Regions from separate parts of the Homo sapiens genome. Here all the other regions are linked to region 1. The links are contacts of gene promoters, found by promoter capture Hi-C in blood cells and fetal thymus (Javierre and others, 2016). All regions are on one chromosome and are shown on one strand. Each heading gives the region's core, a stretch centred on a gene start or on the middle of the fragment in contact. The rest is flanking DNA. Distances are from core to core; before and after follow the strand shown.

What was found. The method cuts DNA at HindIII sites, captures the fragments that hold promoters and counts their contacts. A CHiCAGO score of 5 or more calls a contact.
Region 2: a contact is called between a fragment that was not itself captured here and the fragment with the promoter of UBR2 in region 1, in 6 of 17 cell types (total CD8 T cells, non-activated CD4 T cells, naive CD4 T cells and 3 more). The highest score is 8.7, in total CD8 T cells.
Region 3: a contact is called between the fragment with the promoter of TAF8 here and the fragment with the promoter of UBR2 in region 1, in 1 of 17 cell types (erythroblasts). The highest score is 5.2, in erythroblasts.

Annotation. Positions count from the first base shown.
Region 1 is chr6:42,562,232-42,565,863 of GRCh38, reverse strand. It overlaps UBR2 (ubiquitin protein ligase E3 component n-recognin 2), which reads right to left and starts at 1,835. Exons shown (of 47, transcript NM_001363705.2): 1 at 1,467-1,835. The coding sequence starts at 1,544. RefSeq lists a silencer at 442-571 and enhancers at 1,604-2,123, 2,194-2,273. The HindIII fragment of the contact is 771 bases long and covers 1,748-2,518 here.
Region 2 is chr6:41,788,310-41,791,941 of GRCh38, reverse strand. It overlaps TOMM6 (translocase of outer mitochondrial membrane 6), which reads right to left. Exons shown (of 3, transcript NM_001382294.1): 2 at 2,606-2,710; 3 at 2,047-2,374. The coding sequence ends at 2,614. It overlaps USP49 (ubiquitin specific peptidase 49), which reads left to right. Exons shown (of 8, transcript NM_001286554.2): 8 at 1-2,046. Among named protein-coding and RNA genes, the nearest start is that of TOMM6, 2.4 kb to the right of the region's middle. RefSeq lists an enhancer at 3,561-3,632. The HindIII fragment of the contact is 1,092 bases long and covers 1,046-2,137 here.
Region 3 is chr6:42,048,447-42,052,078 of GRCh38, reverse strand. TAF8 (TATA-box binding protein associated factor 8) reads right to left here and starts at 1,555. Exons shown (of 9, transcript NM_138572.3): 1 at 1,493-1,555; 2 at 566-722. The coding sequence starts at 1,537. It also overlaps a transcript of CCND3 not described here. RefSeq lists enhancers at 829-1,380, 1,050-1,599, 1,381-1,932 and a silencer at 3,069-3,318. The HindIII fragment of the contact is 9,233 bases long and covers 1-3,632 here.

The DNA of each region.
Region 1 (3,632 bases), core at 586-3,085:
CCAAGGCAGGGCGCAGTGGCTCACGCCTGTAATCCCAGCACTTTGGGAGGCCCAAACAGGTGGATCACCTGAGGTCGGGAGTTTGAGACCACCCTGACCAACATGGAGAAACCCCAACTCTACTAAAAATACAAAATTAGCCGGGCGTGGTGGTGCATGCCTGTAATCCCAGCTACTCGAGGGGCTGAGGCAGCAGAATCGCTTGAACCCGGGAGACTGAGGTTGCGGTGAGCTGAGATCGCGCCACTGCACTCCAGCCTGGGCATCGAAAGCGAAACTCCGTCTCAAAAACAAAAACAAACAACAACAAAACACACCCAAACAAGCAAAGATTCAGCATTTAACAACGTATTTCTTTAAAGTCTTCACCTCTACTCCTGACATTTCTTTCTACCCGGACTTAATGTCCTCACCAATTCACGCAAAATAACTACTCACTGACCAACAGCTCCACAGTGCCCCCAATCCCAAATTTTGTTCGTAGCATTCAGATTGCTGACTTTTATTCACGGGTCACTCCCTTCCTAGCAGCCTTTTTAATTGGAGGTCTTAGAGGTGGGGCCCAAGCTGTCTTGGTCCATTCATAATCATTCTCGGCAATCTCTTCTAATGGGTGTTCCTACAACTCTGCTATTTACACTAGCATATTCATATTACAGTTTTAATGCAATAGTGCGTTTGAACGGTTTTACGTTTGGAATATAACTGCTCCTACTACACTGTGACCAGTTCTCACGTTTAGCTTATACAGTATTTGTTGAAAGCTGCTCTATCAACGTTATATAACATTTGTTCTCCATCCAATTACCCCTAACTCCTAGAAAAAATATTTTTAAAATTTCCCAGACTCCACGACTACTTTCTCATACTCAGTAAACTTTCCACACATGCATCAACGTTGTCAACTAATCAAACCGGTGCAAAAAAAAAAGATAGCACTGAAACGGATAACGAAGGGTAGTGTCGTTTGCCTTCTTGGTGCCTGGGGCAGTCCCAAAAACAAAAGAGGGGCTCGGTTAGGGTGGCATGTTTAGTCGGAGGAGCACACGGCTTCGCTTGTCTCAGGAAAAGCAATTAACTAGATAAACTAGGGCGATTATACCAAAAACACAAGAAGCGTCTCTTCTCCTCTTCCAAGAGCTGATATAAAGGGCAAAGGCCCATGTGTTGGGAGACTTAATGGGAGGCTGGGGGAAAGGAGGTATGATGGAAGAGCCGTGGGTTCTCCTGGGCAGAAAGGGAAAGTAAACGTAGTTAGTGCACAGCGCAGCTCTGGCAGCTGTTGAAAATGGAAAGAGAGGGGCAGGATCGGTGGCCTCCCCGGGCTATTACCCCACAAGGCGAGGGCCGGCACAGCTGTTTCCCCAAGTCTGGGTCGGGCTGCTCCAGGACGTCCAGGAGTCGGTTCCTCCCCACAGGCGCGGCCTGCGAGGGGCAGACGCACCCGCCCGGGTTCCGGCACTCACCCCCGCAATCTCCTCGGCCGAACATTCCAGCAAGCTCCGGTCGATGGCCTGCACCTCTGGCTCTAGCTCCGACGCCATCTTCTCTCCTCCTCCTCCCCAGCGCTACCGCCGCCCGGAGAGCTGCAGCCTCACCTCGGCCCCGGCGGCCTCGACTGCCACCCCTGCCCCAGGCAATCAGTCCCGGAGCCGTCCAAGTGGCTGCAGGTGGAGCAACAGAGGGAGAGAAGGGTGACGTGAACCGGAAAGGAAGGACAGCGGCCTCCTGCGCTCCCTCCCAAGCTTAGCGCCCAAGAGTCAAGTCACTGGCTCGTCCCTGACCCAGGGAAGGACACAGAAAACCCCAGGCCTGACACTCTCGCTGGCCACTACCGCGTCCTGCACCAGGAAAGGGGCAATAACACCCAGGAGGGGAAGCGGAGCTTTCTGGGTACTGTAGTTCTGGGTGCTGTAGGTACAGCACAGCCGGGAAAAAGGTGGCGCCCTAACACGGTGCCCCTCGAATGCATTGTGGGAGTTGTAGTCCATTCTCAAGGGGCGCTGGCTTAAATGGCAGATAAGCGGGCGGGGCTTTTCTGCCCAACGAGAATCATGGGAAGACAGTCGCGGAAAGCAGCGCCCCCTGGAAAAAAGCCAAAGAGAAAGATACTGTGGGAACTGTAGTTTTATTCTCCGAATCTCGTTTGTTCATTTTTGTATCCCCAGCTTCAAGAACACTGCCTGGCACATGGTAGACCCTCAAGGACTTGCCAGTCTGGCATAGGGTAGGCACTCAAATACTTGTCAAAGGAATGAATGAATTACATTCTATTCCTGTGGTTCTATGTCCTGTCATCCATCGAACCCATATCTTTTATACGAGTAATGGAGGTGAACATTACCCACTTTTTTGAAGGTTTAAAACATGTTTTAAAAAATTTTTCAAAAACTTTAGTGATGACCACTTATAAACTTTATCACAAATCTTGCTGCAAAGGAAAAAGAGTCTATTAGGCCAATTAAAAGATTTCCTCTTGATAGAGACATTTAATTTCTACAGATAATCAGACCAAGCTTGGTGGCTCATGCCTGTAATTCCAGCACTTTGGGAGGCCGAGGGGGGCAGACTACTTGAGCCCAGGAGTTTGAGACCAGTTTGGACAACATAGCGAGACCCTCTTGATAAAAATCAAAAAATTAGCCAGGTGTGGTGGCACGCCTGTAGTCCCAGCTACTCGGGAAGCTGAGGCAGGAGGATTGCTTGAGCCCAGGCAGTTGAGGCCATCGTGAGCTGTGATCAGCCCACTGCACTCCAGCCTGCGTGACACAGCTGAGACCCTGTATCAAAAAAGAAGGAAAAAAAAAAAAAAGAAATAGGTAAACATTGTTAGACTAGCTATCAAAGAAAACTATGTTTAGTTAAAGGTAATTAGACTCTTGACTGACAGCTGGGTGACTGGGCTTCTTAGAAGTCTTCAGTCTCTAGAGTTTGTCAGAAAATTGTTTATACCTTTTGTCAAGTGTGTTAATTTATTCCCAGAAGTAGGTTGTAAATTACATATAGGGGGGAAAAGTTCTGAGCCAGACCAGGTTTAGGACATGTTTATGTTTATGTTGTTTTGGGATTTTTTTTAAACCAATACTATGATATTAACCAGTTTTTTAAAAAAGGAAATAAGAAACTGCCTGTATCCCTGTAACCTCACAATACAAGTAAGCCTTCTTATCACTTTTTAAAAGTTATATATATATATACATATAAAACATCAGAAATTCAAACTCGAAAGGAATGTTTTAAAAAAGGAAAATTGAAAACTTCCTATTCCTCTTACCCCAAGTCCCTCTCCCCAAAGAAAATCATTTTTGACACTGTCTTATGAGTCTGTCCAGAAAAAAGTATGCACATATCTGTACAGATATTTATAATGAGATATCTTGAAATATTCTTCTATGTATTTTTCTTTTTTTGCCCAACTTCCTTACACTGATCCACTCAGGACAGAGTCAACTTGGAAGAAAACTGGGATTGTCCCAGCCTAGAAGCAAAAACAACATCTCTTGAGCTGTCCTAACATAGAATTTAAGTCGTTAATAGACTGTAAAGGCAATTTCTGTTCTTAACATTATTTGCTTCCTAACATTATTTGTTTCAGGCCGAGCATTGTGGCTCACACCTGTAATACCAAAACT
Region 2 (3,632 bases), core at 342-2,841, 770 kb after region 1:
GGGGTAAAACTTTCCAGGGCCACTTAATTTTTTAACCAGTTAAGTACGCATCTTCCTGGTGGTTCAGACTTTTTAAGTCAGTGCTAAAGCTGAAAAGCGCCTTCTAAATATGACTGTGAGTTTAGTTTGTATCTTACATTTAGTAACTGTTCTGTTGGGCCAGGACTATGACTTTAATTACTATGTACTTATTCATCCCACACTCTGCACTAAATACACCATAGCTACTATAGCATTGTGGCAGGCACTCATTTTTGTGGACTCATTCCATACTTCTGCTGGCATATTTCGTTTAAAATCTAGCTAAAGATTTTCATAGTACTGTGTTAACTAGCCAGGGCTGAAAAGTGTGACAGGATATCAAATTGACTTTCCTTGGGGAAAATGTTGCTTTGGCAATAGTGAAGTCCAACTCCTTCATTTACAGAATTAGTGATTACTCATCAATTTTTGAAAGTTGTAGATTAAGTAGTTTTATTTACTAAATTCTTAACCACTTTGAAGATTTAAGCCAGTTGAAATGAAACATTGGCTGGATGCAGTTGGCTAGCACCTGTAATCCCAACACTTTGGGAGGCCAAGGTGGGAGGATTGCTTGAGGCCAGGAGCTCAAGACCAGCCTGGGAAACATAGATTTGAAATCTTTTCAAAAATGTATAAAAATTTAATAAATAAATAAATGAATCCTTACTCAACCATAATTATGGCTTTAAAACCCAACCAACAGTAAACACTTACTTGAAGCCAAAACAGTAAATTTTGAATGAAATTTGAATTATGCTTTTGGAAGCTGCCATGTCTTAATTCTTGCTGGATTTTGATTTTCAATTTTGGAAGTTTTTATCAAAACTGTCCAGTCATGAGTATATCAGGTAGCAGCCTTTAAGGATCTAAGTTTCATTCCTATAAAGAACAGGAGGTGCTGGTATTTCTTGTCTTAGCAAGTGATCTGATGCAGGTCTAAATGGGGGTTAGCATCTATACTATGGCTTAAAAGTTTCCTCCTTGGTCACCATTTGGGAGGTGATGGCTTCAAAGCTAAGCTTTGCTCTCATGTGACCCTTCTTTATCTTAATACCCAATAAGATATAAACCTCTCAGAGTCAACCCAGTGTAGACTCAAAGGGTCTTAGCTTCATCTATCAGATAAGATCTATCTGATTTATACAAAGAATGGTGCTGTTTTTATATACATACTAAAAAAATCTAATTCTCAAACAATTTTCTTAATATTTATGCCAGCAAGGTCAGGAAAGACTATTTTGTCCTGTTTAACTTTAGTAGTGAACAAACTGCTAGAGACATCTGTCATCCTTAACAGGCCACTGTGGTCCTTATATACTGACCCTCCTTTCCAATTAACGTCCTTTAATCCCATACTAGTTCCATAAGAGACTTGGCACATAAAAGCAGTATTTTTTTTAATGCCTAGTAAACTGGCCAGAAAAAAATATTGCCATGGTGGACCTGTTTCTATCCACCTCTTTCTATGGCTATATAAGTCTATACATGCCAGTTCCGTACATACTCCATTTCCAAAGAGCCCCCAAACCCTGGACAGTAGCACTACCATGAATTTTAGGGTCACAAAACATTTCCTTCTGAAGGAAGCAGCTGCCTCAGCAGTGTCACTTTAGTGACCACTGCCCAGGCTTACTTCACTTTGCCTCCCCCTACACATCACTGCCCTCTTTCTGCCACCAAACCTCACTATTCCAGCAATGATGCCTCCCTGGTGTCTGGAAAACCCATCTGGTGCACTAAAATGCTATGCAACACCAAATGGCTTCTTCCCCTAATATTGCTCAACAATGTAAATTCTTCAAGAATAAACTTCATGCTAGGTTAACATCAATGTATGGTTACAGCTTCCTTTTTTTTTTTTCCCTTTTAAAATGAAGCAAACCACCTCCATTAAAATCCATGTTTTGGGGCTTGTTTTTGTCTCTCAAGTGTGAAATATAAATCATGTTTTTATGATTTTTGTAAATCTTTTTACACCTTGTTTTTGTAAGCAAAAGTTTCTTATTAAAAGAATAAAATGACTGCCTTTGTGTGCGGTATTTATTTCAAATGTTTTTTAAAACAGCACTGTTATTTCTCAGGACAAGAGCAAAAATCACCCCCTGCAGAAGCTTGGGAACTATGTACAGAACTTTACAGAATAGAGGCAATACTTTAGCTTAAGCCTGTCTGCTGACCAGAGAATGGAATTCTGCGTGGACTCAAGGAACAAAAGGAAACTAGGCAGGGAAGGGGAAGAAAAGTGCCCATCTGAATCAAACTTCAGCTGCCATCAGGGCACATCTTGTGGTGGTCACAGATTGTAGGCTGTTTTTTGGAAGATTCGGGTTCAGCACAGGATTCCATTTGTCTGCAATCAGATGATAAGACGACAGGTGGCATTAGAACTGTAAAAGTATGGGAGGGAAACTGGTAAGAGATACTTAAATCCCTTTCAACATCTGAAAACACATTTAACTAGGAATAGTTAAGGGTTTTACATCACATTCTTTTGTACATTTCATGAATACTTGACAGAAAACATTGCTTCACCCAGTCTCTAGGTCTCCTAAGACACGCATGGGTGTAGTTCAGTGCTTACCTACTTGGCTACACCCCTGGCTGAGGTGCCATGAGGTCAATGTCACTCAAGTTCCTGGCCAGCCAAACTCCCGCAGCAAAGAGTCCCAAATTTAGTATCAAGTTCCTGGAAAAACAATGTGTTTTATTAACCCTGTGGTCACTGAGTCAGTTGTACAGTTAACGAAATGTACTGGGGGGAAAGGCTTCCATCACCACCTTCCCGAGGCGTTGATACGTGGTTGTGACGGCAGGTTGCTCAAGACCCACGTGGGAATTTGGAGTTCATTTTTGTGCCTAGTAAGTGTAAGGTCAGGCTGGGCGCGGTGGTTCACGCCTGTAATCCCAGCACTTTGGAAGGCCAAGGCAGGCGGATCACGAAGTCAGGAGCTCGAGACCAGCCTGGCCAACATGGTGAAACCCCGTCTCTACTAAAAATACAAAAATTAGCTGGGCGTGGTGGTGCGCGCCTGTAATCCCAGCTACTGGGGAGGCTGAGGCAGGAAAATCGCTTGAACCCGGGAGGCGGAGGCTGCAGTGAGCTGAGGTCCGCCACTACACTCCAGCCTGGGCGACAGAGCGAGGCTGTCTCAAAAAGAAATAAATGTGGCCGGGCGCGGTGGCTCACGCCTGTAATCCCAGCACTTTGGGAGGCAGAGTCGGGTGGATCGAGAAGTCAGGAGTTTGAGACCAGCCTGCCCAAGATGGTGAAACCCCGTCTCTACTAAAAATACAAAAATTAGCTGGGCGTGGTGGCGCGCGCTTGTAATCCCAGCTACTGGGGAGGCTGAGGCAGGAGAATCGCTTGAACCCGGGAGGCAGAAGGGGCAGTGAGCCGAGATTGCGCCTCTGCACTCCAGCCTGGGCGACAGAGTGAGACTCCGTCTCAAAAAAAAAAAAAAAAAAAAAAAAAAAGGCCGGGCGTGGTGGCTCACGCCTGTAATCCCAGCACTTTGGGAGGCCGAGGCGGGCGGATCACGAGGTCAGGAGATCGAGACCATCCTGGATAACACGGTGAAACCCCGTCTCTACTAAAAATACAAAAAATT
Region 3 (3,632 bases), core at 306-2,805, 510 kb after region 1:
AGGAGATTCAGTGGCTTGCCCAAGCTATTAAGTGACAGAGTGATGATGTACACCAAGTCTATCTGATTCTAAAGCCTGTAAGTCACTTCATTATGCTCTTTTCTGTTTTTGTTGTTGTTGTTGGAGATGGAGCCTCACAGGCTGGAGTGCAGTGGTGCGATCTCAGTTCACTGTAACCTCTGCCTCCCAGATTCAAGCGATTCTCCTGCCTCAGTCTCCCGAGTGGCTGGGATTATAGACACCTGCCACCACGCCCAGCTAATTTTTTTGTGTGTTTTTTAGTAGAGACGGGGTTTCGCCACGTTGGCCAGGCTGGTCTTGAACTCCTGACTTCAGGTGATCCACCCGCCTCAGCCTCCTAAAGTACTGGGATTACAGGCGTGAGCCACCACGCTCGGCCCATTGTGCTGTTTTCTTTTCTCAACTTTTTACATTAAAAAAAATTTTTTTTCTCCCCTCTTAAGAAAAAAGTTTGTTTCTTAAATCCTCTCAAACACTATCACAAAGCAGGGCACAGAACTGATGTTGGGGTTGACTCCAAGGCCAAGTGTTTCCATGTACTCACAGCTCTGCAGCATCTCTGTCAGCGTTTCCACGGATGCTTTCTCGGCACTCTCAAACCCTGCCTCTGTCAGCAAGGAGCTCACAACCACCTGCAGGGTTCTCCTCCGGGCCAGATGATAGTTATCGGCAGGGTTAGTGGACTGTTTACTTCCCGATCTCTGTGAATCAGCAGAGAGATTTTCATCCACAGGAGAAGGATGCAATCACATAGTTCATACGTGGTCAACGGCAAGCAAAGTTATTTTACTAAATAATTTTATTTTAAAAATCAGTGCTTAATGTTTAGATTTACAGATCTTGGCCAACTGAGTAAAAATTGAGCACCCAAGGTGCTTTAAATACAGAGACCACTTCTCCGCTTACCTAAAACGTACAGTCCCAATGAGATAAAATAGCAGGTCTTTTACTTTCTACTTTAGCAGATTATTAGAATACATAGCTGAAGAAACACGCATGATGGGATTAAGACGTGTCCCGCAGAAAAAACAGGATCCCTCTCTTGTGCCTCCCATCTTCACACCATTTCATTGAAAGGGAAAATGAAAACAGTAACAAGAGGTGACCGCGAGGAGAGGAGGGCAAAAGATAAAAGCACAAAAAAGTAAGAAAGCTAAATATTTTGAAACGGGAATGCCTTTCAACTTTGGCCGGCCAATAAGAAGGCGAAAACGGCATCTTCAGACCAATCGGGGGTGTTCCGGGCTCCCAACCCCCAACAGCGAACGAGCCAATCAAGACACAGGTCCGCCAACTCCGGAGGCCGCAGCCAAGTCCCAAGGAGGGGGCGCCTACGGCCTGAAAACACCCTCCGCCAGTCGGAGCTCATGATGGGGCTGAATTTCTGGGCATTATCTTGTTGCTCAGTCGAGGGGAAAGTTGCAGGATACCCAAACTCTCTCGGCTCCGAGCCCGCGCTTCCTGCCCTTACCGTTCCGGAGCCACCGGCCCCAGCTGTGGCCGCCGCGTCGGCCATCTTGTTCTGGCGTAGTGTGCGCGAGCGCGGGGCGCGATGGGACTTGTAGTCGCGGGGCGGGGCGGGGCGGGGCGGCGTGCGCCCCTTGGTTTTCCGAAGCCCAGTCGGTTGGGGGACGCCTCCGGTGACCCCGGCTCACGTGACTTTTTTTTTTTTTTTTTGGATACAGAGTCTTGCTCCGTTTCACAGGCTAGAGTGCAATGGCGCGATCTCGGTTCACTGCAACCTCCACCTCCCAGGCTCAAGCGATCCTCCCGCCTCAGCCTCCGGAGTAGCTGGGATTACAGGCGGGCACCACCACGCCCCGCTAGTTTTTGTATTTTTAGTAGAGACCGAGTTTCGCCATGTTGGCCAGGCTGGTCTCGAACACCTAAGCTCAAGCAGTCCGCGGCCTCGGCCTCACAAGGTGCTGGGATTACAGGCGTGAGCTACCGCGCCAGCCTCACGTGACCTTTTGAGAGTGAAGTGTTCTGGGGCCTTCAGTGGCTTGGTTGTGGGCCAGGAAAACGCGCCCGGTTTCACTGAGTTAAAAGAAACCTATTTTAATATGAAAATCGGTTCTTATAAAGAGCATACCAGGAGATCATCTACACTCGCAGGGTTTTCCAAACTTGTCTTATTATTAGTAACACCTGGCTGGGCCCAGCCCAATCCCAGTGACTTCACTCTCTGGAAGAGGGGCTTGGGAATCTTTCTCATTAAGGAGCTCCCCAGATGATTCTTCTGAGCGAGTAATGTTGGGAAACCCTGGAGCATCCAGCCTGGTGATTTTGTGCTGAGGGCCGCCCCGCCTGTCAATGGCCCACTTGGAAGTAGAGCCTGGACCACCTAGTCCAAGTCTATCGCTGCATCCTGCTGCCTTCGCGCCCTCGACCCGCAAGTATTTGCGAGGCAAGTCTAGGGGGCGGGAGACTTGTCCCTTGCCGCCTCACTCCCAGGGCGTGGGGTGCCCGCGGCTACCAGTGGTTTTCTCCCTAGCCTGTCAGCCCCTCTAGCTGCGCCGTGTTCGTCCCCATTTGCAGGTGCCTGGCAGGACGCAGATTCTGGGCTTGGATCCTAACACTAGCCAGCTATGGTACTTCGGGCACTTGACCTTAATCCTCAGTGTGTCTCAGTTTCCTCTTCTGTAAAGCTGGGGGAAAGATGAGATGATACACAGAAAGAGTCTGTCACAGTGCCTGACGTGTAGTAAGAGTCAAGAAATCGGCCGGGCGCGGTGGCTCTCGCCTGTAATCCCAGCACTTTGAGAGGCCGAGGCGGGTGGATCACCTCAGGTCAGGAGTTCGAGACCAGCCTGACCAACATGGTGAAACCCCGTGTCTACTAAAAATACACAAAATTAGCCGGGCGTGGCGGCGTGCGCCTGTAGTCCTAGCTACTCGGGAGGCTGAGGCAGGAGAATAGCTTGAATCCGGGAGGCGGAGGTTGCAGTGAGCCGAGATCGCGCCACTGCACTCCAGCCTGGGCGACAGAGGGAGACTCCATCTCAAAAAAAAGAAAAAGAAAAAGAAGTCGCTCCTCATGATGTTGTTTACTTCCTGGATAGCACGTGGAGGAGTTGCCAACGCCGGGAGGCAGCGGTCCGGGAACCCGTGCTGCCCCGGCCCCGCCGCCCACACCTGAGCCTCCGTGGCGCCCCGCCCCCGCACCTATGCCGCGTGGGGCGGGGGCTGCGGGCGGGGGTGCGCGGCGCCGGATGAGCCTCCTGGCCTCGCCGAGGGTGTACAGGGGGTGGGAGAGTCAGGCCGGGGACCGAAACTTGGCTGAGCAGAGCACCAGCCCCTTTGTCTCCTCCGCCCCCTCTTCCCCACTTCCTGCCCAGCTCTGGATCGGCGGCGCGGCGCGGACTTTGTAAACACTTCGCCACTGCAGGGGTGGAGACTGGCTCTGTTCGGATGCCGGCCGGGGGGGAGAGGTGCAATCCTCTCCTCGCGGCTGGTGGTTGCGACCACCCCCACTCCCCAAAGGCAGGCTCCGGAGGCGGCGGGACAGAGCGCCTGCGACCCCAGTCGGTGCTCCGGGGAGGTCACCTGACGAGGAGGTAGGCTTGGGTGCTGGAGAAACCGGGGTAGATGGGATGTCAGCTCAGGCTGGA